Linked DNA regions of Homo sapiens: regions 1, 2, 3, 4, 5 and 6 are each linked to region 7. Evidence: promoter capture Hi-C in 16 types of primary human blood cells and fetal thymus (Javierre and others, 2016). All regions are on one chromosome and are shown on one strand. The core of a region is centred on a gene start or on the middle of the fragment in contact, and the rest is flanking DNA. Distances in the headings are between cores, read along the strand shown. Region 1 has its middle 44 kb from the start of CTPS1. Region 2 overlaps RLF (RLF zinc finger). Region 3 overlaps LOC105378671 (a long non-coding RNA gene). Region 4 overlaps RLF (RLF zinc finger). Region 5 holds the start of CITED4 (Cbp/p300 interacting transactivator with Glu/Asp rich carboxy-terminal domain 4). Region 6 has its middle 17 kb from the start of CITED4. Region 7 holds the start of ZNF684 (zinc finger protein 684).

Region 1 (3,672 bases), core at 1,134-3,633, 400 kb before region 7:
ATTTAACCTCCATCTAGCTATAGCTTTACTCAGCATGACTGTACATAGGGGTAGCAGAAAACAATCACTGGATCACTGGAACTTAATGAAATTAAAAAAAATAAATGCCAAGCCCTCCCCTCTACTTAAGGGTTTTGAAATCGTTCTGTTTATTTTCAGGGATACCATTTAATTTAATTATAAGACTTGCCTCCACTCAGTTTGTCGCCTTCTCAAATCTGAGCCACATGCCATTCTTCGTTATTGTCAGAACCTAGTGAGTGGTTTTGAACAGAGCTGTTTTTGCCCCTTCCTGTAAAGTGATGTTTTATTGCACAAGAGCACTGCAGAGTTTTCATAATAAACTTGCGAGCTCAGAAAAAATTACTCATGAAGCTCTTATTTGCAGTGTTTGTTATTAAAGCAGGCACCCTAAAGAGTATAGCCAGCAGGGACAGATCCAGGTTTTGTGAAAGCCTGAGGTTTATATAAGTGTGTGTGTGTCTGTGCGTGTGTGTGTGTGTGTGTGTGTGTGTTTGTATGGTGAGGAGGGCTCTTTATGAAAAAGACTGCAAAATTCTAAGTACAAAATTAGGTACTACAGGAGATTGCATTACTGGACCCAATACTTCCCCCCTCCTTGGGTCTACATCTTTGCCATATGACTTTGCAGTTTGGGCCACTAAAGTGTCAGAGTGTATTTCTACTCTTCTTGACTCTGGCCTTGGCCATGTAACTTGCATTGGCCAATGGGATTGAGTGGAAGTGACAGCATGTTACTTCTGAGTCTGGGTCTTTCTTCTTTGTACCTTGTCTTCAACATGAGGGCATTCACTGGTTAGCACAGTGGTCCCAGGAGGAAGATGAGGGATACAGGGAGCAAAGCCATCCAGCTGACCCAGCTTAGATAACCTAGCTCACAGCTGCTGTGGCCTAAAGCATCCCAGCTGATCTGCAGATCTATGCCAATAAATACTTGTAAGCCGCTGAGTTTGGGGACCATATGTTACACAGCAGTACTCTACCAGTAGCTAACAAATGCAGGTATAAACATGAAGGTTTATTTGTAATGAGAAAATAAATCACAACAGATAAGATTTTAGCAGCTGACAAATAGCTCAAAAGTCACAGAATCCAGAAAAATACATAAATTTTCATTAATTGCCATCTGACATACCTCTATAATATCCTATATGTTGGCTACATTTTCTTTGGTTGCCTCTCCAATATAACAACTTAAATTTTTTTTTTTTTTTGTAATTTTGTGTTTCTACAGAGAGGAGGGAGAGAGGATTCTCTCTTTCTTCTGAAATGGTTTATTGAAAAATACTTTTTAATTGGTAATTTAGTAAAGTTTCGTCTAGCATCATAACTGACTTTAGGTCATGTTGTTTCAATTATTAAGATTGTTGCCAAAGTTGTGAAAACCTCCATCAAGTTTCTTTCAGGACATTTTCAATTTTCTTGTACAATTAATTGTAAATCTTCTTTTAATTGATTCTCATTATCCATTTGTCATCAATGTTCTTTTGTAGTGGTACATTGTAAGTTTCATGCTTTCTTAGTTCAGTAATGTGTGTCAACTCAGCAAAAGTAAATATTTTTTCCACTGTGTCCATGATCTACTCCTTTTTATTATTCATTATTATTATTTTGAGACACAGTTTCACTCTCCTTGTCCAGGCTGGAGTGCAATGGCCCGATCTCGGCTCACTGCAACCTCCACTCCCACATTCAAGCAATTCTCCTGCCTCAGCCTCCTGAGTAGCTGGGATTACAGGCATGAGCCGCCACGCTCAGCTAATTTTGTATTTTTAGTAGAGATGGGGTTTCTCCATGTTGGTCAGGCTGGTCTCCAACTCCCGATCTCAGGTGATCTGCCAGCCTCGGCCTCCCAAAGTGCTGGGATTACAGGTGTGAGCCACCGTGCCCAGCCTATTGTTATTATTTTTAGACAGGGTCTCACTTTGCCACCCAGGCTGGAGTGCAGTGGTACCATCATAGCTCACTGTAACCTCTAACTCCTGGGCTCAAGTGATCCTTCTGCCTCAGCCCCCAGAGTAGCTAACTGGGACTGCACTGCATGCCACCATGCCTGGCTAATTTTTTTTTTTTTTTTTTTTTTTTTTTGCTATGGGGTCTTTCTGCCATATCTTATGGGCTAGAAAAAAATTTTATTTAAAAATAAAATAAAATAGATTTGGGGGTCCTTGCTATGTTGCACAGGCTGGTCTCGAACCCTTGGGCTCAAGCAATCCTCTCACCTTGGCCTCCCAAAGTGCTAAGCTTACAGGCATGAACAACTGTACCCACCTATTCCTTTTTAGTAATTGGATTACCAAAGACTCCAGAAGGCTATTTATACCTGCTTTGCAAATTTATCTTTTCCTCTTACTGAGTTACTGCTTTTGGAATGATCTGAAATTCTTTTGTTACCATTTTCTTCCATCGATTTTCTGTTGATTTCTACTGGTTTCATTGTTCATTTTTATGGCCTTTATTTTATGCTCTATTAAGCTTTAAATATTTTTTGTCAGCTATTTAATATATAAATTTAAAGGTAACAAAAGGAAATATGTAATTTCTTAATTGTTTTATTGGAAATCAGATGTCTGTCCTTCAGAGAGGCCTTGACCACTCAAATCATGGAGCTCTTCCCAGCACTTTTTAACCCTTGATTTGACTTTCTTTTCCTTTACAGCAGTTGATCTGATGTTAAATTACGCACTCACGTGTTTGTTGTCTGTCTCCTCCAGTTAGAAGCTAAGGAATTAGCTCCTTGAGCCCTAGAACATTGACAGATAAATAGATATTTGTAAAGTCAACGAATGAATGAGTTCCCTAAGTGCCAACCAGTGTCCACACTGTGATTTCTGTCCAGCTGCTTGACGCACTTCCAGGACTGGTAAGAGTCAGTGACTGCTGAGAATCCACAGTGCCCTGAACCCTACCAAAACGCCCCACCCCCATCTCCTTTGTACTAAACTGGGTCTCCATTTGTGACATCTTTTCCATTAAAAAAAAAAAATGTGTCCTGGAGTGGTGATCCCAGCACTTTGGGACGTGAAGGTGGGAGGATCATTTGAGCCCAGGAGTTTGAGAACAGATTGGGCAACATAGCGAGACCTTGTCTCTAAATAAATAAATAAATAAATAAATAAATAAATAAATATAAATTAAAAAGGGACAGACTCAGACTTTTTTGATAGATTATACAAGTTATTTCTCTCTCAACCCAAAGTCTCTGTTCAACCTATAGTTACTTTGCCTACTTTTATATTCTTAATATAGCATGATTTAACTTTCTGTATTATTCTTACCCCCCCTTAAACGAGTAACCCCATTTGCAGCCTCCAACTCAGCATATCCTAAACTGAATGCATCACGTCTCCCTGCACGTGAGCGGGTTCATCTTCAGTTGTTCAGCCACTCAGGCCATGAGTCCAGACGCATTCTCAGCAGTTCTCTCTTCCAATTGCTGCCCATTCTCCATCAGTCACTTATTTCTGTCATTTCTTTGATCTCCTCACCATTTCTTTCATGCTTGCATTTCTCTCCTTCCCCACAGCCAGCACCCCAGTCCAAACCCCTGTCTTCTCTCACCTGGATCAATCTCCTACTGGTATCCTCTACCAGTCTCTGAAATGGTTTGTTAAGACGCAGATATGATCTGGTCACTGCTCTGATTGAAAC
Region 2 (3,615 bases), core at 692-3,191, 320 kb after region 7:
CTCCTGTTTACTTTTTCTTCTACTCCCAAACTGAATTCCCACTGGGTCCTGTTTAAAGGTATCTGCTCTATCATTTATACCTAGTGACTGTGTCAATTCCCAACAGTGTTAGGCTGGTAAGTAAATTGGATCCTGTTTGTCCTTTCCTTTCCCCATCAGGAAAAGAAACAACCATCTGCTATTGTGTCTATCAACCACGTCAGATACCGAAGATGTAGTTCATTCAGGGATTAAGAATGAAACGGACCCCTGCCTTAACTGCGCCAAGAACTCTGCTGACAGATTTCTTGAGCTCTTTAAAATAGAAGTGCTTGATGTTTAAAATGTTATCTTTTCTATGTTGAAAACCTGATCTTTGCAAAGACTTCCCCTTTCAGTAATGAAAAAATATAGGAAACATCCACTTGGGACACTGAGCCACTGCCAAGTCTATAACTTTTATTAAAATCCTTTAATATGTAAAGTTAATAGCAATGTCATCTCATTCAATTCTACATAAATAAAGTATCACAACCTAAAACTCCAGGATTCCATGAAATTCTTCTGCCTTCCAGACCTACCAGATATCTGAAAGGACTCACTCTTTACCCACTAGGTTCTGAATTTTGACTTTCAGATGACCCAGTCAATTAATCTTAATTGTATGTGTCTGGCTAAATCTTCCCCAGCAGCGGTTTCCCATTACATATGCCTATTATTGGGATACCCCCAGGTACCAACATACAATGTACTTTTATTCCCAGCTGTTGCTCAAGTTAACTCTTCTCCTGAACTCAGGTGAAGTAGATGGCAAATATGTGTGTAACTCTGCTACTTTAGAACGTATGCTGAATTTAAACTCTAATTAATCAACATCTGGTGACTCACTAGTAATTTTCCAAAGCAAACTACAGATTATTTTTAATTCTGTTGACACTTGCAAAAGAAAAGTATCACTAGGATAAGAGACTGACTAGTGGCTGGGCGTGATGGCTCATGCCTTGTAATCCCAGCACTTTGGGAGGCCGAGGCGGGCGGATAACAGGAGGTCAGGAGTTTGAGACCAGCTGGTCACCAGTAGAAACGGTGAAACCCCGTTTCTACTAAAAATACAAAAATTAGCCAGGCGTGGTGGCACGTGCCCGTAATCCCAGCTACTCGGGAGGCTGAAGCAGGAGAATCACTTGAACCCGAGAGGCAGAGGTTGCAGTGAGCCGATATCACGCCATTGCACTCCAGCTTGGGCAACAAGAGTGAAACACCATCTCAAAGAAAAAGAAAGGAAAAAAAAAGACTGACTAGTTATGATGATACGATGATACTAGGGTTCCTTTAAAATAATTTTAAGATAACTTTATGTGTACTAAATGTTTTGCATTGGTATATTTAACAAATTAATCCACATCATGATAAAAATGTTTTAAATCACACCTATATGTATAAATATGAACAGAATGATATATCACCAAGATGTTCCCAATCAGACCATGGCTTATCAATGTCTAACACATGGAAATAGGTGGTAGAGTGGAAAGAAGGCTGACCAAGGAGCCAGGTGACCTGCATTCCAGCTGGGCTTGGCCTTTCTAATTAGCTTAATGCAGGAAGGGCCTTGGAAACATTATCAGCTTGGCTTCAGTTTCATCACGTGTAGAACACGGAGGGTTAGACCAACCGATATTAAACCACTGAAATAGACTGGAAAATTTAATTCTTGTAGAGCAGAGGTTAGCAAATATTTTTCGTACAAGGACAGACAGAAAATATTTTTAGCTTTTCTGGCCAGAGAGTTTCTGTTACAACTACTCACCTCTGCCACTGTAGCACAAAAGCAGCCACAGACAAGAAATGAATGTAAGACTTTGTGCCAGTAAAGCTTTATTTATAAAAACAGGTAGCTGGGTGGGTGCCAACCCCCTGTTGTGAATAGTATCAAATCGTATTTCCTATAACACAGTTCCCTGCAAACTCAACACAATCAGGAAAAATCCTGTTTCCAAACATTGTTATTAATAAACCAGGAAAGATCATGTATAAAACAAAGCTTATCATCTTCCCAGACTCTCCCTTGTCCCTCCACCCATTCTTTCTTCTAATTAGCAGCAGAGCACCACTATTCTTCCAGTCTCCCAAGCTAGAAGCCTTATGAGCCTCTTGAAGGTATCTCTGTACATCCTCCTCTGTTTTTGCCCGGTCAGCAAGTCCTGTCCTTTGTCCTCTTGCTGGCTACAATCTCTTGTCCTAAACATAATACATATTCTTTCTGTCTAGTCTTCCTAAAACACCACTTCAGACATGTCACTTCCTAACTGCAAAGCCTTCTTAATTTCTACTGCATCAAATCTAACCATTAATGCAATGGAGTTTCCAAGCCCTTCTTTTCCAACCCCAACAGGTCTTATTTCTCACAAGACTTCAATAACCACTCTGCCCTAAGCAGGGTATTTATTCTCCAGTGGATCCCTGCAAAGTACTCATTAGTACCTGTGCTTTACTACCATTCAGTCATCTCCAAACCATTCTTTCCACCCATCCAAACCCCACCATTACTTAAAGCTCCAATTCAAGGATCAATTTTTCTATAAACACAGAATTCTCTATCTTTACACTTCTACTGAATTTAGGGCAGTAATCATTGAGCTTAGTACTTCTCTTTCTGTAACTATTTTTGGCAAACAAACTGGGCCATACAGTTTGCTGTATTTGCCAATGCCTAATACAACATTAGAAACAAAACGGGTTTTAATTAAGCAAAGGCTGAGAGAGTAAAGTTGTTATTATTACAGGATGAGGAATCAAACCCAAAATGTAGTGTTTTGCTGCTGCTTTTGAATTGTTTTGGCATGTGTCAGGTGCTGAGAATAACCATTACTACATCTCAGTCTGATTAACTTTCCCAAACATAAAATACTGCAGCTGCTATTAGAGGTAAGCAATCTATCTCCTTACACTACCTGATACTGCAAATAAATAAATTAGCATACAGGTTTATAGTTGGTCTCTTATGATCGCCTTTTTTTTTTTTTTTTAAGACGGAGTCTCGCCCTGTCGCCCCAGCTCGAGTGCAAATGGCACGATCCTGGCTTACTGCAACCTCTGCCTCCTGGGTTCAAGTGATTCTCTTGCCTCAGCCTCCTGAGTAGATGGGATTACAGGCGCACACCACCACACCTGACTAATTTTTTGTATCTTTAGTAGAGACAAGGTTTCACCATGTTAGCCAGGCTGGTCTTGAACTCCTGATCTCATGATCTGCCCGCCTCGGCCTCCCAAAGTGTTGGGATTACAGGCATGAGCCACTCTGTCCAGCCCATATGACTGCTTTTAAAAATGTAGATGAAGTCATAGGAGGCTATCTCTGTGTATACCACATTGTTTCTCTGTGCAAATTCAGGTTTCACCTCTGATCAATCTTGACTTCGACGGATCCTCCCTAGTTCTGCACCCCAGGCTTAAAGAATTCTTATACTAGGGTCTATGTTTGTAAGGTGTCTAAAATATGCCAAGAACTGTGTTAAGTGCTTTAGATATTATCACATTTAAACTATCCAGCCATTTTGTGAGACGGCTACTACTGTTGTGCCTACTTTATAGATAAGGAAAATAAAGCTACCTGGCCAAGGCTGTATGGCTAGT
Region 3 (3,403 bases), core at 189-2,688, 380 kb after region 7:
TATTGTGTGCACTCAATGTTATGAAAGAAGACTTTTTAAAGCATATGGTATTTAAATGGGTATTTAAATAAGATCCACTGGGGAGAGTATAAACTAAGGGTCATAAATTTATATTCCTACTAGCCTTTGTCAGCTCACCTAAATGAATGACACAGGCTGGGTATAAGATGTTTGGAAAGAATGAGTTGATTAAGAAATGACCCAAGAAGCAGGTACTCAGCTCCAGAAAATTATTGCCATATGAGAATACAGAACTCATTTTACTAGGTCTGCTAATTCTCCAAGATAAATTGGAAGTTCAGTTTTGGTTTTGTTGTTGTCGTTTTTCTTTTATTTGATTTTGTTTTTTAACACGATTTCCTATTTTGAAAACTGCAGGCCAAATAATACCCACCTGTGAGTCCAGTGTGACTGATGAGCCAACGGTCTGCAACCTCAAAACAGAAAGAAGGAGGAGGGTCCAAGATCTTGCCAACACTAAGATGTCAGAGGAGTAGGATCCAGCCATCAAAGAATGTTCAGAACCCACTGAACAGACAGAGGGAAAACCAAGAGTGTGATATTCCTCAAGACAAAAGAAGAAAGCGGCAGGAAGAAGCTGAATGGTCAGCTTTGTAGGCTGCTGACAAGAGTTTGGGTAAGGTGAGGACACACAAATGTCCATTTGATGTGACATCATGAGTATTGGTTGGTAACCTCAACTAGAGAAGTTTCTGTAGATCTCTGGTATGGAATCCTGTCTGAAGAAGATTGAAGAATTAATGTGAGATATGAAAGTAAAAAGAGCAGGGCAATTACCCTCTTCAGAAGTTTTTCTGAGAAAGAGGAGAATAAAACCGGGGCTGTGCTATTAAGGGGATATGAGGTTTTGGAAGGAATTCTTAAAGATAAGTTTATTAGTATGTTCTCATGCCTGTAATAAAGACATAACCGAGACTGGGTAATTCATAAAGGAAAGAGGTTTAATTGACTCATACTTCCACACGGCTGGAGAAGCCTCACAATCACAGCAGAAGGCCAAAAAGAAACAAAGTCGTGTCTTACATGGTGGCAGGCAGAGAGTTTGTGTAGGGGAGCACCCCTTTATAAAACCATCAGATCCTGTGAGACTTACTCACTATCATGAGAGCAGCACAGGAAAGATCTGCCCCCATGATTCAGTTACCTCCCACAGGTACCTCCCACAACGCGTGGGAATTACAATTCAAGATGAGATTTGGGTGGGGACACAGCCAAACCATGTCAACAGGAGATTCTAGAGCATGGTTGCATGTGTATGGAAATGATACAGGAAAATAGGAGAAAATTTAATGTAGAAAACAGGGTGGGGGGATTGCAGGAGAAAAGTCCTTGAGAAGGCAAGAGGGCATGGCATCCAGAATACAAGAAGTTTGATCTGCAATAGAAATTAGATATGTATTTTTATTTCAAAAGGAGGGAATCTGGAGAGTATGGGTACAGATGCAAGTAGGTGTATAGATTTGGCAGTGGGAGATTTGGGAGTCATTGCCTGAGTGCTTCTTTTTGCTCCATGACTTGTGAGAGAAAGCTGAGGTGGTAGAGAAAGGCAATGTTGAGCCTTTGAGGAGACAGTAAAAACTTTGTTAGAGTTGTTTTAGAGTGAGAAAAAAAGAATGCATTCTAGATATGTGCAGGAAGATTGCAGGACAGTGTTGAGTGGCATCATTCATTTACTCAACAAATATTCACTGAAAGTCTACCATGTTTCAGGTACTGTCCTAGAGGCTAAAAATACATCATGAAAAAAAACAAGTCCTGGGTTTTATATTCTTTTCTCCCTCAGAAGTTATAATACAGTTAATTTAATTGCAACTTTCTTTATCATATTCCAGTTCTATGGATACTCCCAGGTCCCCCCCATACCCCCCAACCCAACCACCGGCTTGAGTGAACCTAGATATCTCTCAATACATCATGAGTAAGACACAAACGATGAGTTAGAGTGGTTACATTTTTAAGATCCATCTGTTTAGATTCATGGAACATTGTGGACAACTACTATGGTCAAGGTAAATTTTTCTCATTATGGGTAAAACCCAGAGGGCTCTAGGGTCAGGTTTGTCAGGTTTGGATCCCAGCTCCGACTGCTTATTCGTTGTGTGCCTTTAGATCATTTAATTTCATTGAGCCTTGGGTTCCTCATCTTAAGGTGGACATTGTAACAGCATGTGTCTCATAATTCTCATAGTTGTGGGTCCTAATGAGATTTATCCAAAGAGCGGAGAATGAGGCCAGATGCACAGTAAGCACTCAGTGTCACTAGTATTACTCCTATAAGGTTCAGCTTCAGAGGATAACTTTAGTTTCCTTTACTGTAGTCCCTCCACACCTACTGACCATGGATGCCATCTATTTTCACGACTTTGTCCTGTGAGTGACAAAATGATCAAGAGGACAGACCCATACTGTGGATCATCAAAGGAGCTGATTGATTAGGCTAGGATTTCTGATTTGCAAATTCAATAACTTGATTCTATCATTTCACCTAGGTTGTGATTAAGGCACAAGAGCCCAAATTACTAATTTACCTTAAGAAATATAATGGTATCTCTACAGAAAAGTCAGCTTGGGAAGCAAAATTAACACCGGAAGTTTGCTTAGGGAGGGTACAATTGGTGTAAAGGGAATGAGAAGATCTTAAACCACCATTGTTCCAACACCCTAGCTTCTCCCACGGTTATTTTTTATCCTTTCTTTCTCTACCCCCCAAATCTAATCAGGTTAGATTCTAAGTCCTATTAATTTGTGCTCAGGAAACTTTCTCCCATATTTTCTCTTACCCATTTCTACTTCTCCATGCCTGGGGAATGAGAGTATATAGATAACACAAAATAATGTCCTCTAAAGGTCTTCAAATGAGAAGCATTTGAAGAGTGAGAGTGGCTTCCAGGTGAGGGAGAGGATGTGCTTCAGAAGCTGATTTTGATTATCATTTCCCATGGCTGGACTTGCTGCCATCACCTCCCTGGGACCCTGGGAACATTTTGTTCCTTTCCCAGGGGCTCAGCATTCCCTTCTGGGAGGCTTTGTTGCTCCCATTTTGATGAAGGGTTAGGGGCCCAAAGGTAGAGAACCCCCAAAGGAGATGGGAATCCAAAAATCTCACAGATGCTATTTCAGACTTTCCCCTCCTGCCAAAGTCTCCCTGGAGAATCCTTCTTTCCTCTGCCCTTTGGGAGATTTTATATTTGTTGGATTTAAGGGAGGGGCAGTTCCTTCATCGTACCACTACCGTTAGACATGCCCTACTTTGCTCTTGCTTGAATGATTGCAAGGGCTTCCCAACAGGCATTCCTGCTTCTAGTTCATCCCCTTGCTCCCCGAGATTCATCTTCCTAAATTTGACTCCATTGTTTAAGATTGTTCAGTCCCTTCTTGCTTC
Region 4 (3,735 bases), core at 527-3,026, 350 kb after region 7:
ATAAAATAAAAAAACTGAGTAACATTATAAAACTGACCCCTAAGCAATCCTGCTTCCCAGCTGAATTAGTAGAGAAAGAATGCAGAATGGGTGTCTGTTACATAACTAAGATTTCACCTAATTTATTAAAATCAGCCAGGTGCTGTGGCTCACGCCTGTAATCCCAGCACTTTGGGAGGCCGAGGCGGACGGATCACAAAGTCAAGAGATCGAGACCATCCTGGCCAACATGGGTGAAACCCCGTCTCTAAAAATACAAATATTAGAGATGGGCGTGGTGGCGCGCGCTTGTAGTCCCAGCTGCTCAGGAGGCTGAGGCAGGAAAATCGCTTGAACCTGGGAGGCGGAGGTTGCAGTGAGCCAAGATTGCGCCACTGCACTCCAGCCTGGCGACACAGCAAGACTGTCTCAAAAAAAAAAACCAAAAAACAAAAAACAAAGAAATTTATTAAAATCTATGTTACAAAAAAATTCTGGTTTAGGTCAGTAAGTTACTTACTGTCTGCATTGGCTAATCTAAGAATTAAGGAGTTTCAAAAATTTATATTTAGTGCCAGATTTATGTTCCTTAAAGTCAGACATTATGTCTCATCAATCCTTATAGGCCTACCACTCCTCTACCCACTTCCACCCCCACAGGACATTCTCAAGTCTCACTAAATGTCTGCTGAATACATTCACCATTTTATTCATTTGACAAATATTTTTCAATAGATTATCACACATAAAGTGCTAGATGCAGTGGGGGCGGGCAGACATGTGGCCTATCCTCACAGAGCTTTCAGAATGAGTCAATACAACATGATGGCTGAAACCACACATGCAAATTAACCAACTGCTAACTAAAGTATGCAAAGAGAAGGACAGAGTGCATACAGATGGGGTTAGTCTTTCCACAATCCACCTGTCCACTTAGAACGCTCTTGCCACCAATCTAATAGCTTCTGACAGACATTCCACCAGGACTTCTGTAAGCTACACAATTTCAAAGATTCAATACTCTTGAGGAACTTCCAGTTTGCTCTATACTAATTTATACTTTTTATATTCCTAAATCTTTACCCCCTCATGTGTTGGTTCAAATTAAGTAGTGAGATCTCTTATACCCACTATAAGCATACTCTGGGTATGTGAAGAATGGCTGGAATAATCAATCTTCTTCATTATCACTTTTTTTTTAAATTGAGATAGAGTCTCATTCTATCACTGCTGGTGATCCTCCCACTTCAGCCTCCCAAGTAGCTGGGACTACAGGCATGAACCACTGTGGCTAGCCAGGCATTTTCTTTCTTTCTTTTTGTTTTTTTAATCAAGTCTCACTCTGTCACCCAGGTTGGGGTGCGGTGGTGAAATCTCGGCTCACTGCAACCTTCACCTCCCAGATTCAAGTGGATCCTTTCACCTCAGGCTCCTGAGTAGCTGGGATTACAACTGTGCGCCACCAGGCTCGGTTAATTTTCCTGTTTTTAGTAGAGATGGGGTTTCACCATTTTGGCCAGGCTGGTCTCGAACTCTTGACCTCAAGTGATCCGCCTGCCTTGGCCTCCCCAAGTGCTGGGATTACAGGCAAAAGCCACCTCGCATCCAGCCTTTGTGGTTTTTTTTTTTTTTTTTTTTTTGCTTTTTTTTTTTTTTTGAGACAGTCTCACTCTGTCAGCCCAGGCTAGAGTGCAGTGGCACGATCTTGGCTCACTGCAAGCTCCACCTCCCAGGTTCACGCCATTCTCCTGCCTCAGCCTCCCAAGTAGCTGGGACTACAGGCACCCGCCACCATGCCCGGCTAATTTTTTTTTTTTTTTTTTTTTTGTATTTTTAGTAGAGACGGGGTTTCACCGTGTTAGCCAGGATGGTCTCGAGCTCCTGACCTCGTGACCTGCCCGCCTCGGCCTCCCAAAGTGCTGGGAGCCACTGCGCCCGGCTTTTTTTTTTTTTTTTTTTTTTTTTTAATGCAAGATTAGGTTGAAAGGATTACAGCCATCCAAATAACAGGATGGCTGTAATCCTTTCAACCTAATCTTGCATTTAAAAAACTGGACTAGGCAAGGTGGCTCACGCCTGTAATCCCAGCACTTTGGGAGGCCGAGGCAGGTGTATCACTTGAGGTCAGGAGTTCAGACCAGCCTGGCCAACATGGTGAAACCCTGTCTCTACTAAAAATACAGAAAGTAGCCGGGCGTGGTGGCGCATGCCTCTAGTCCCAGCTACTTGGGAGGCTGAGGCTGGAGAATTGCTTGAACCCGGCTAGAGTTCAGTGGTTCAATCACAGCTCACTATAACCTCAAACTCCTAGGCTCAAGTGATCCTCTCTCCCACCCACCTCAGCCTCCTGAGTAGCTAGGACTGGAGAAGTGCATCACCATGCCCAGCCAATTAAAAAAAACTTTTTTTTTGTAGGGACAGGGTCTCTTTGCTGCCCAGTCTGGTCTCAAATTCCTGGGCCTCAAGTGGTCCTCCCACCTTGGCCTCTCAAAGTGCTGGGATTACAGGTGTGAGCCACTGTACCCAGCCACGGTCTCTTATTTTTCTTTAGGAACTGAAATCACAACTGAAGAGAAAAGGGGCAATAAATGATAAAGATGACCTCCTAAAGTTCATTCTACAGTGACCAAATTAATGACCTCTCTCTTTTGTTTCAGTAAACTCATTCCACAAATACCTACTATTTTGTACTGTGCTGGGAAGTAAGGATGGAGACTCTATTCCTGCCCTTGAAAGGCTATGATATATACTAAGGGGTCAGATATATAAGTAAAAAATTAGCTCACTTACGCACCATATTTGACTATTCGGTGCTCTCATTCACATCCCAAGCAGATTACCCTCAAATTACTCTCTCAAGTCCTTGCTATATACCTCAACTGCCTATTACATATTTCCATCTGGATGTCCTATTCAAATCTCAAACTCAGCATGTCCAAAACCAAACATCTTCCCCAGCAAATATGCTCTTCCTCCTATGTTCCATCTGCCTCCTTTCAGGAGCCAGAGCTAAAAAACTATCTTTGAAACCACCACACCAAAGTTTGTTGATTCTATCTCAGAAATATCTTTGTCTCCTGTCCCTATGCTTTATCTCTGTAGCCATTCACCTAAACCAGGCCCCCAATATCCCTCATCTAGACTGCTACATTGGTTCACTTCTCTAGGCTAAATAACCTCTAGTTCTGTATATGTGTTATAATCACGTATGTCTGTACATTGAAAAAATTAATGTCCAAGGGGAAAATGACTAGAAGAAATTAACTAAAATGCTTACATGGTTAGCACTGAGGTAGCAGGAATATGAGCAATTTTTGTCATCTTTATACTTTTCTAAACTTCTCAAATTTTCTTTAATAAGCATGACTACATTTTCAAAGCAAAAAAAATCTCCCCTCACCCTTAATTCTCTCTACATTTCTCACTACATGGTTTCAAGGAGCTTGGCAGCATTCTGACTATTCCTTGAAACTATCAAGAAAGGAGAATTTCTTTCAGGATGGTCACATTTAATGTTTAAAGAATACATTCCAATTTAAATTTCACATAGTTCAGGATTAACTTTCCTAATGAAATAATTATATTTACTGAGCACATAGTATGGGTTAGGCACTTCCTAAGAGCTTTACGGCCACTAAACTTATTTAATATGCACAACTCCATGAGCTAGGAGTTATTATCAGCCCATTTCAAAAATGAGGAGCCACTGTCAAGTTGTCTTTTGGGAATTTTTTTTTTTTTTAAATGAGGAAACAT
Region 5 (3,397 bases), core at 866-3,365, 330 kb before region 7:
CACTCACCCACCCCTTACCCCCCACATCTCCAGATAAGTGTGAGGCATGGCCAGGTTTAAGAATTTCTGTGAGAAGCCTTACCTGTAGAGAAAGATTCAGGAGAATAAATTCCAGGGTGTAGCTTTTTACACTTTGCAAAAATGTGACCACACCCATGGTCATTTATCACTACCCACAAGCTCTCAGGCTGACCAGGCAAGATCACCGTCTCCCTTTCACAGAGCAGAAAGCTGAGGCCCTGGGGAATCAAGTAATACTCCCCGCTCAACACTCAACAGTCACAGCTGGTTGGTGGTGGAGGTCACACACCTGTGGGTGGCAGAGATATGATTAGAACTTGGGCCTCTGGCTGGGCGCAGTGGCTCATGCCTGTAATCCTAGCACTTTGGAAGCCTGAGGTGAGAGGGTCACTTGAGGCCAGGGATTCGAGATAAGCCTGAGGCCCTCCTCACTCCCCCACGCCGCCCCTCCCCCCCGCTCCCTTCTCTATTTAAAAAAATAAGAAGAAAGAGGGAAGAAAAGACCTTGGGCCCCTGAATTCTCACTCTAGGGCTCTCCCCTCTACATCAACTGGATAAACCCAAGTTCCAGGAAGTCCCAAGGATGCCACAGGTCGGGGGAAGGTCAGAGAAGGGAGAGAGAGTGTCAAATGCGTGGAGGGTAAGGTTCTGGGAGGCTGTCTCCTGGCCACAGGAAAGACTCCAGTTGCCCTAAGGACTTGGAAAACACATGGCATTCACACGCTAACTCTGGCTGCCTGTGACCTCAGGACAGCCACTTTCTCTTTGTGTGCTTCTCCTTATCACTGAAATGGGGCTGATAATCCATGCCCTGCCCCCAACAAAATACTTGTAGAATGTAAAGCACTTTAAAAGTCCAAGTTATTATTGCTGTTATCAAGAGAAGGCCCTTTGGGACAGAACTTAAATAGCCTTGGCCGGGCGCGGTGGCTCACGCCTGTAATTCCAGCACTTTGGGAGGCCGAGGCGGGCGGATCACGAGGTCAGCAGATCGAGACCATCCTGGCTAACACGGTGAAACCCCGTCTCTACTAAAAATACAAAAAAAATTAGCCGGGCGTGGTAGCGGGCGCCTGTAGTCCCAGCTACTCGGGAGACTGAGGCAGGAGAATGGCGTGAACCCGGGAGGCGGAGCTTGCAGTGAGCCAAGACAGCGCCACTGCAGTCCAGCCTGGGCGAAAGAGCGAGACTCCGTCTCAAAAAAAAAAAAAAAAAGAACTTAAATAGCCTTTCTTTCATCTAAGGGACACTTTTGAGCATCTACCACATACCAGGCACTGTGCTAGGCACTGTGCACACATGCCCTCACTTACCCCTCACAAAGGGTCAGTGCTGCTGTTCTTTACCTTTTACAGATGAAGAAACTGAGGCTCAGCTGAGAGTTGCAATTCATTCCATCATTAGTTCATTCACTCAGCTTTTACTAAAAGCCTGCTCTGGGCCAGGCTCTGGGCCAAGTGCTGAGAAGAAGAAGATGAACAAGTCCTTCAGGAGACGTGCCCATAAATTAATAACAACTAAGTACATGCTTCAACAGACAAGGTGCAGTGGGAACTAGAGGGGGAGCAACAGGCTCTCCTGGGGGTTATGGGAATGGACAGCTGACCTCCTGCGGGGACCCTGCACCGCTAAGGTGCATGCGCCCTGTGTAGCTGTGCAGTCTCACTTTGATCAAGGCTTTGCTGTGTATTTCCAGGAAGCCTCTTCCGCCACTGAGCCTCGGTCTCTACCTGGAAAGTTAAAAGGTTGCGTAGGCCTGACATCCTGCAGCTCTTGGGGGGCCTAAAACTCTGGCCCTCCCACCCCACCTTCTGGTCAGTTCAAGCTCTACCCCAGCCAAGTCCGATTCCGAAGCCCTGAGGGCCAGACCGAATCCCTCCGAAAGTGCCAAATACCCCGCCCCAGGGCGGTGCTCAGAGCCTGGGGCGTGGCCGGAGTCCCAAGGGGCGGGGTTCCAGTGGGAGGGGCGGGGCCAAGACCTAGATGCAGGCGTGCGCGGCCCGCCCAGAAGCGTCTCGCCCAGCCAATGAGCGTCCGAGGGCGGGGAAGCCCCGCCTCTGGGTATAAGAATACGCCGAGCCCAGCTACGCGACGCGGAGGTTTCGGAGCACTACAGGTTGCGGGCCTTTGTGACCCCAGGCTGCGGCCGCAAGGTGCGCAGTAGTGGGCTGGGCCGGGGCACCAGTCGGGTTTGGTTTTGCTCCGCCCGGCCGAGCTGCAGGGACCGCACGGTGCCCGGGTCTCCCGCCGCAGAGCAGCCGCTGGCCCGGGCCGGGGGAGCCGGCGCTGACCACCGCGCGCTGTCCCCGCAGGCAGCCGGCCTGCCGCCATGGCCGACCACCTGATGCTCGCCGAGGGCTACCGCCTGGTGCAGAGGCCGCCGTCCGCCGCGGCCGCCCATGGCCCTCATGCGCTCCGGACTCTGCCGCCGTACGCGGGCCCGGGCCTGGACAGTGGGCTGAGGCCGCGGGGGGCTCCGCTGGGGCCGCCGCCGCCCCGCCAACCCGGGGCCCTGGCGTACGGGGCCTTCGGGCCGCCGTCCTCCTTCCAGCCCTTTCCGGCCGTGCCTCCGCCGGCCGCGGGCATCGCGCACCTGCAGCCTGTGGCGACGCCGTACCCCGGCCGCGCGGCCGCGCCCCCCAACGCTCCGGGAGGCCCCCCGGGCCCGCAGCCGGCGCCAAGCGCCGCAGCCCCGCCGCCGCCCGCGCACGCCCTGGGCGGCATGGACGCCGAACTCATCGACGAGGAGGCGCTGACGTCGCTGGAGCTGGAGCTCGGGCTGCACCGCGTGCGCGAGCTGCCCGAGCTCTTCCTGGGCCAGAGCGAGTTCGACTGCTTCTCGGACTTGGGGTCCGCGCCGCCCGCCGGCTCCGTGAGCTGCTGAGGGCGGCCGGCGCCCGCCCGGCGTGCCGGAGAGGAGAAAGGGCCCGACTGCCCGCCGGACCCTGCACCCAGCGACTGGGCCCCGCGCGCGCCCTCCGCGAGGGTGGAGGCGGCGGCTGTGTGCGCAGGGCCCGGCACCGGACTGGGACCCTGGCGTCCCTCCAGGCCTTGCCTCCTGCGGGAGGACAGTTTGGCTTCACTTCTCTGACCCCAGCCTCGGCCGTAAAGTGAAAGAGACCGGACCAGCTTCAGCTTTCGGACTCTGGTTCTTGGATCGTGTCCTCTCCCCCTCGCCGCCCTCTTCCCCCAATCTGAGCCATTGCAGGCCTCTGCCTGCTGCCCCCTCTCTCCTCGGGATCGGGTCCCCAGAGCCACCATCTCCTGAGCCTCCCACCCCGCTGCCTGGGCCCTGTGGTTGCTGGGCCTCCCACCTCAAGGAGGGGAAGGTTGTACAGCCCGAACCCGTGGAGCAATGCCCTGTCTGGCCTCCAAA
Region 6 (3,550 bases), core at 138-2,637, 310 kb before region 7:
TTTTCAAATCACTTGGTTCCATGATGTCTATAGCTCTGTTCAGCTCTGCCAGTTGGGATGGGGCAAACCCGAGTGATTCTCAGATCCTGTGCATTTACAGCAGAAAATGCGTCAGGTTGGTGGGTGAAATCCCTGTTGCAGGTGTCATTGGCTGAATTGCATCCCTCCAAAATTCATATGCTGAAGTTCTAACCCTCAGTTCCTCAAAATGTGACTGCATTTGGAGATAGGGCCTTTAAAGAGGTAATCAAGTTAAAATGGGTTTTTTAGGGTGAGCTCTAATCCAATATTACTGGTATCCTTATAAGAAGAGGCGATAAATACATCAACAAGCAAAAACCAACCCCATTAAAAAGTGAGCAAAGGATAGGAACAGACAATTCTCAAAAGAAGATATACAAGTGGCCAAAAAACATGAAAAAATGTTCAGCATCAATCATCACTAATCATCAGAGAAATGCAAACGTAAACTACAATGAGATATCATCTCACACTAGTCAGAATGGCTATTATTAAAAAGTCAAAAAATAACAGATGTTGGCGGGGTTACAGAGGAAAGGGAATGATTATACATTCTTGGTGAGAATGTAAATTAGTTAAGCAATTTGGAGAGTTCTCAGAGAACTAAATATAAAACTACCATTCCACTCAGCAATCTCATGACTAGATATATACCCAAAGGAAAATAAATCATTCTACCAAAAAAACACATGCAACTGTATGTTCATTGTAGCACTCTTCACAATAGCAAAGACATGGAATCAACCTAGGTATCCATCAATGGTGGACTGGATAAAGAAAATGTGGTGCGTATATACCATGGAATACTATGCAGCCATAAAAAGAAGGAAATCATGTCCTTTGCAGCAACTTGAGCAGCTGGAGGTTATTATCCTAAGCAAACTAATGCAGAAACAGAAAGCCAAATACTGCATGTTCTCACTTATAAATGGGAACTAAACATTAGTTACACATGGACATAAAGATGGCAACAATTGACACTGCAGACCACAAGAAGGGAGAGGGAGGGAGGGGATCAAGGGTTGAAAAATGACCTGTTGGGTACTGTGCTCCCTACCTGGGTGATAGGTTCTGTCGTATCCCAAACCTCAGCATCATGCACATCATGCAATATACCTTAGTAACAAACCAGCACATGTGTCCCCAAACCTAAAATAAAACTTGAAAAAAGAAAAGAAAAAGAAAACTAGGAACACAAAGAAGAAGAGGAGGAGGAGGAGGAGGAAGAGGAAGAGGAGATTATTAGGACACAGAGAGAGACCTCAGACCTGTGTACATAGAGAACAAGAGATAATCATGCAAAGATACCAGAAGAAGGCAGCCTCTACAATCATAGGAGAGAGGCCTCAGAATGAAACCAACCCTGCTGATAACTTGGTCTTGAATTTCCAGCCTCCAGAACTTTGACTGTGTGATCATGCACTTCTGTTGTTTAGACCTTCCAGTCCATGATATTTGCTATGCCATCCCACACAGACCAACACACCGTGGTAGCAGCTATCACGGTCCTGCTATACACAGAGGTGGGTGGTAGGGGAAGATGTGCCTCTCAGCTTCTCAGAGGGAAAACGAAACTGTTTTAACAATTGGAGCTGTCAAAAGTACGTGAAATATGGCCCAGTGCAGTGGCCACTGCACTCTGCACTCTCAAAAAAACAAAAGTACATGAAATAAATTATCTAAATAGAGAAATAACTGCATGGGTTTTTTTAGATCTACAAGAGTGTAAACATCGCAACGTATTCAGAGCACCCATCAAAGTGAGCTGAGCCCCTTGGTACAGCTTCTGAGCCTGGGCCTCCAGAGGCCTGATGGCTTCTGCTTTTGCCCTCTTGCCATATGAAGAAGTACAGTCTAATCTACTGGAGGATGAGAAGCTCCATAGAACAGAGATGAGCCGTCTTGCCTGCAGACCAACTCACACCAGATTGCAGACACGTGGGGAAGGCCCTCTTGGGCCATCTAGACCCTGTTGATGCCAGATGATTGCAAGCACATTAGTGACCCCAGGTGAGACCAGCAGAGCTGTTCAGCTGAGTTCACCCCAAATTGCTGACCCACAGAATCAAGAGTAAATAAAATAAAATAGTTGTTATTTTAAGCCATTAAGGTTTTTTGTTGGTGGTTTTTTGTTTGTTTGTTTGTTTGTTTTGGAGACAGAATCTTGCTCTGTTGCCCAGGCTGGAGTGCAGTGGCATGATCTTGGCTCACTGCAACCTCCACCTCCCGGGTACAAGCAATTCTCTGCCTCAGCCTCCTGAGTGACTGGGACTACAGGCGCACGCCACCATACCAGGCTAATTTTTGTAATTTTTAGGAGATGGGGGTCTCATCATGTTGGCCAGGCTGGTCTTGAACTCCTGGCCTCAAGTGATCCACCCACCTCGGCCTCCCAAAGTGCTGGGATTACAGGCATGAGCCACCACATCTGTCCTAAACCATTAAGTTTTAAAATAAGTTGTTACAAAGCAATAGATAAATGACACACCAAGCTAAAATTGTATCTGCTGTCAAGGCCGTATTTGATGACAGTTTGGGGACTCCCAGAGCCACCTGCAAACTCTCCTTGCTGAGCCAGGCAAATTTAGAAGATAAACAGTAGCTGTGCATTGGTTAATTGTGCATCTGTCTCCCCCAGGGGCTGGATGACCTCAGGGCTGTAACTTGTTCTCCCGTGTCTGTTCATCCTGTATATTGTGCTGAGGCAGGGTCTGGCATATAGCGGGTGCTCAATAGACATTTAACTCAATTAGTGAAATGTCATGGGACTTGTTCGGGTTACCAGCACCTCCTGCTCGGGTGACTGCAGCAGTCTCCTACCTGCTCTCCCCACACCCACACTTACTCCCTCAAATACATCTTCCATCCCAGGAAAAAAAAAAAATTCTAAAATGCAAATCTACCCCAGTGTGCTGCCTGAGAAAAATCTTTTATTGTCTCCCCACTGCTATCATGGCTAAGTCCTATCTCTTTGGAATGATTAATGAAATCCTGTAAACTTTGACCCCTAATTCTAAAGTCCCATCTTGCACCCCTCTCTCCGTTGCTGTCTGGGACCAGCCACGGGATTTCTTTCTGTTCCTTTCATCTACCACACTCACTGGTGCCTCTGGACCCTATCACATACTGTGCCTTTTCCTGGAACATCACCACCACTGCCACCACCCCAGTTCCCAGGCCTGGCTCCATCCTACCTGTCCTTCAGTACATTTGGTTGTCCATTTTGTCTGATTGAGAGATGACAAGAAGTATGGATCTACACTGATTTATGGGCAGTGGCTAATGGTTTGGCTGGATGGTCAGGGGTTCAGAAAGCACAGAACTGGAGGACTGGCCATAAGAAAAACTGGGAGAGACTAGTAGATGGACTTTCAGAAATGACACAGAATATGAAGATATTTGTATTCCAAGTAAAATCTCACCCAAAGTCATCCATGGCAGAGGCAGCTCTTGATAATTCGATGGACAAGATGGCACATTGGATGGATGTCAGCCAGCCTCTCTCCCTAGTCTCTCCAGCGCATTCTCC
Region 7 (3,485 bases), core at 30-2,529:
ATATGTTTCTGTCCTACTGATCTAGCACCAAGTGGTTCCTCTTGAAACAGTTATTTTTTTTCCTCCCAGAAATTTATCCTGAAGAAATAATGAATGAGTTGACTCACTTAAAAGCTTGGTCTCTGAAGCTCCGTAAGTCTAAAAATGATTCCTTCCTGTGATTCTCTGGTTTCTACTCTGACGCTGGGATAAGAGATTGCAAATTAGGTTGGGCTTTCTTGAGAAGGCTGGATTCAGGGACCCAGGAACACTTTTTTTTATTTTTTTTTTGTTAAGCTGGATCCTTCAGTTTAAACTCCAAATGTTTCTCTCTGTAGAAACTCGCCATCTCCTATGAGCTTAGAACTGCTGGGGCTCTAGAAAGGGTATAATGGGCAAACCGGGGACTCACATCTTCATTTACACAGTCTGCACTGGAAGATCTGCAGATACACCAAGAGACTCTACAAAATGACTACAAATCGAAATTTACTCAGCATTCATTGCTCAAACATTTCAGGAGAATAAACCCAACTCTGTTTTATGCAGGAATGCTATACTGTAAAAAAAAAAAAAAAGAAATTTGGAGAAAATGTATCTGAGTTTGAATCTCAGTTCTTCCACTTACTAAGCTGTGTGAGTCCAGGCAAGTAATTTCACCTTTCAGCTTCAGTTAACTCATATGCAAAATGGTAATAGCATTTACTTCAAATGATTGCTGAGAATACCCTTCTAATCCATAGCAGTTTCTCAAGAATGCTTTCTTCCTGGATCCCTTGAAATAGCTTACAGTTTCCACTGGATCCCTTGACACGGCTTAAAATTGTCGCAGGCTCCAGTCGGGCCAACTATGCTCTTGGAACCAGGAAAGGTACAGTTAGATGAACAGACTCCTACATAGTGACCTTGACCTACAAGAGCAGGAATGCAAATTGAGCCTCTCCCAGTCCCACCAGAGCCCTGGACATCTACCCAGTGCCAGTCGGAGCCCAACTCTTGCTTTCTCTCAGCTACTCGAGTTGAACAGGACCCACATATCCAAACCTGAAGTCACTGCGCTTGGAGACTAAAGTTTTATCTTCGGTAGGGTAAACCTAGAAGCCAGTCCCCGCCTTTCTCTTACGTCCTCCGAGTCCAGCAAAGCCATACCTGCCACCCTTTCACTGCCTCGCTCGCAGCTCCGGCTCCAAGCCTGGGATCAGTCACAGCGTCGTCCAGAGACAGGGGAGCAACACCCGCCCGCACTTCCCGCGGCGCTGATTTGAAGATTGAATACCGGCTACCGTCCTACTACGCGTGTGCGGAAGTAACTGTCCACCTAGAGTTCCTGGACTCCTCCCGGGTGTAGGCCATCCGTCGGAGACCACATTTCCCATAAGGCCAGTGGAGCTCGTTTCCGGAAGACGTCAGACGCTGCTTCCTCTTGGGGGGTGGTGCGGAGATTCCCGGGTTGGTATCTCTATTGCTAGCCTGAGAGCCACGCTTTTTAAGTCGTTTTCATTTAAAAGGATACACAGCATTTTTAAATACTGGAAAGTAAAATCGGCGGTATGCTAAAAACAATTTGCTCTTACTCAGCAGGGTTTCTTCTAGCAATGCACCAGGTTAAGTCGGAGAGGTGAAGAGGATCCAACAAAGAAGACTGAGAAGGAATAATCCATGAAGTAGATGGAAAAGTAGGAGAGTTTAGATCTGCAAAACCAAGGGAAGGAAGTGTTTCAAGAAGGGAGTGACCCATTGTCTCAAATGTTGCTCATAGGTCAAGTAAAATGAGAATTAAGAATGGGCCACTGTAGCAATGGTCACCAGTGATGTTGAAACGCCATTTTGGCAGTGGTGGAAGTTTGATAAAGTCTGATGAAAATTTGATAGGAGTTGGAGGGAAGGATGGGAGGAGAGGAAATGGAGAAAGCAAATATACGCAATACTTTTAAGAAGTTTTGTTTTTAAGGTGAGCAGAAAAATAAGGCTATCATGGGATAGGGATTTTGTTAATCTTTTGTTGTTGCGTTTTTCCACGTTCTAATTTTTTTTTTTTTTTTAATTCAAAGATGGGGCTGAGTGTGGTGGCTTATGCCTGTAATCCTAACATTTCAGGAGGCCAAAGTGGGAGGATTGGTTGAGCCCAGGAGTCTGAAACTGCCTAGGCAACATAGTGAGACCCTCATCTCTACAAAAAATAAAAAACTAGCCTGGCATGGCACCCGCCTGAAGTCCCAACTACTTGAGAGGCTGAGATGGGAGGATCGCTTGAGCCCAGACAGTAGAGACTGCAGTGAGCCGTGATCCCGCCACTGCACTGCAGCATGGGCGACAGAGCTAGTCTCTGTCTCAAAAAAATAAAATAAAAAAGATGGAAGAAATTATAGTAAGTTTATGTACTAATTAAAAGGATCTAGGCTGGGCGCAGTGGCTCACGCCTGTAATCCCAGCACTTTGGGAAGCTTAGGTGGGCAGATCACCTGAGGTCAGGAGTTGGAGACCAGCCTGGCCAACGTGGTGAAACCCCGTCTCTACTAAAAATACAAAAATTAGCCGGGCGTGGTGGCAGACGCCTGTAAACCCAGCTACCTGGGAGGCTGAGGCGGGAGAATCACTTGAACCCGGGAGGCAGAGGTTGCAGTGAGCCGAGATCACACCACTGCACTCCAGCCTGGGCGACAGAGCGAGGCTCTGTCTCAAATAAATGAATTAGTTAATAAAATAAAACAAAAGATCCAGTAGAGGCGGGAAATACACAATTCAGGATAGACAGGCTAGTTACTCGGAGGAATGTCCTTGAGAAGAGAAGGGATGGAATCCAGTACACAATCACAGGGATCATTCTAAGTAAGAGTATGGATAATTCATCTCCATTGAAATAAAAGGGGAGGCAGAGTTTATAAGTACAGATCCAAACAGGTGGACAAATATGGTGGTAGGAGAAAGAGGATGCCCTGTTCTGAGTGCTTCTATTTTCCCAGTGAAATAGGAAGCTGAAATGAAGATAGGGGGAAAGTATTTTAGACTTGACAGAAAAGATGAATACCGTATTATGATGATTTTGAAACATGATTTTTTCATATTTTAACATCTGTGAAATTGCTGTCTTACAAGTGATGGCATTCCATAGTTTAATCAGGAGCATTGTTTTTTATTAGTATATAAAATAATAATACAACTTATAATCAATGGCATCTGAGATTCGATAAAGTATGATTTATGAATGTGAGCAAGTGAATAGATTAAGGAAATGTAGTACTATTGCCTGGCACCATTAAGAACTGGCTTGATATTAGTAGCCATTATCGCTTCTCAGCCTTTTGGCTAAGATCAAGTGATATTAGTACCCACTGACTTTACTAGCATTTTCTATGCAATAAACACATCTCTCTCTCTCTGCCTCCCCTCCCGTCCCCTCCCCTCCCCTCTCCTCTCCTCTCTCTCAACAGAAAGGACATATATTAAAGACATGGGTAGTAGAATAAATTCATTACATCTTAATATCTAAAGTATTTTGGACCAAA

What was found. The method cuts DNA at HindIII sites, captures the fragments that hold promoters and counts their contacts. A CHiCAGO score of 5 or more calls a contact.
Region 1: a contact is called between a fragment that was not itself captured here and the fragment with the promoter of ZNF684 in region 7, in 1 of 17 cell types (megakaryocytes). The highest score is 5.5, in megakaryocytes.
Region 2: a fragment that was not itself captured here is called in contact with the fragment with the promoter of ZNF684 in region 7 in 3 of 17 cell types (naive CD8 T cells, neutrophils and naive CD4 T cells); the score reaches 5.3 in naive CD8 T cells.
Region 3: a contact is called between a fragment that was not itself captured here and the fragment with the promoter of ZNF684 in region 7, in 3 of 17 cell types (total CD4 T cells, naive CD8 T cells and activated CD4 T cells). The highest score is 6.8, in total CD4 T cells.
Region 4: a contact is called between a fragment that was not itself captured here and the fragment with the promoter of ZNF684 in region 7, in 1 of 17 cell types (neutrophils). The highest score is 5.6, in neutrophils.
Region 5: a contact is called between the fragment with the promoter of CITED4 here and the fragment with the promoter of ZNF684 in region 7, in 1 of 17 cell types (naive CD4 T cells). The highest score is 5.9, in naive CD4 T cells.
Region 6: a fragment that was not itself captured here is called in contact with the fragment with the promoter of ZNF684 in region 7 in 8 of 17 cell types (fetal thymus, M2 macrophages, megakaryocytes and 5 more); the score reaches 8.6 in fetal thymus.

The regions. Positions count from the first base shown.
Region 1 is chr1:40,933,777-40,937,448 of GRCh38, reverse strand. No RefSeq gene overlaps it. Among named protein-coding and RNA genes, the nearest start is that of CTPS1, 44 kb to the left of the region's middle. The HindIII fragment of the contact is 231 bases long and covers 2,268-2,498 here.
Region 2 is chr1:40,209,271-40,212,885 of GRCh38, reverse strand. The region is part of intron 5 of RLF (RLF zinc finger); the gene reads right to left. Among named protein-coding and RNA genes, the nearest start is that of TMCO2, 37 kb to the left of the region's middle. The HindIII fragment of the contact is 168 bases long and covers 1,858-2,025 here.
Region 3 is chr1:40,145,227-40,148,629 of GRCh38, reverse strand. LOC105378671 (a long non-coding RNA gene) reads left to right here. Exons shown (of 3, transcript XR_947232.3): 3 at 379-929. Among named protein-coding and RNA genes, the nearest start is that of RLF, 14 kb to the left of the region's middle. The HindIII fragment of the contact is 9,755 bases long and covers 1-3,403 here.
Region 4 is chr1:40,183,728-40,187,462 of GRCh38, reverse strand. All of the region lies in intron 1 of RLF (RLF zinc finger), which reads right to left. Among named protein-coding and RNA genes, the nearest start is that of RLF, 24 kb to the right of the region's middle. RefSeq lists a silencer at 728-917. The HindIII fragment of the contact is 6,433 bases long and covers 1-3,735 here.
Region 5 is chr1:40,861,081-40,864,477 of GRCh38, reverse strand. CITED4 (Cbp/p300 interacting transactivator with Glu/Asp rich carboxy-terminal domain 4) reads left to right here and starts at 2,115. Exons shown (of 1, transcript NM_133467.3): 1 at 2,115-3,397. The coding sequence starts at 2,351. The coding sequence ends at 2,905. LOC124904157 (a long non-coding RNA gene) reads right to left here and starts at 2,094. Exons shown (of 3, transcript XR_007066025.1): 1 at 1,368-2,094; 2 at 83-310. RefSeq lists an enhancer at 1,729-1,788 and silencers at 1,889-2,088, 2,249-2,328. The HindIII fragment of the contact is 10,972 bases long and covers 1-3,397 here.
Region 6 is chr1:40,843,382-40,846,931 of GRCh38, reverse strand. No RefSeq gene overlaps it. Among named protein-coding and RNA genes, the nearest start is that of CITED4, 17 kb to the left of the region's middle. The HindIII fragment of the contact is 9,100 bases long and covers 1-3,550 here.
Region 7 is chr1:40,529,431-40,532,915 of GRCh38, reverse strand. It overlaps ZNF684 (zinc finger protein 684), which reads right to left and starts at 1,279. Exons shown (of 5, transcript NM_152373.4): 1 at 1,129-1,279. LOC124904149 (a long non-coding RNA gene) reads left to right here and starts at 1,370. Exons shown (of 2, transcript XR_007066022.1): 1 at 1,370-1,428; 2 at 1,561-2,338. RefSeq lists an enhancer at 1,185-1,479. The HindIII fragment of the contact is 2,309 bases long and covers 117-2,425 here.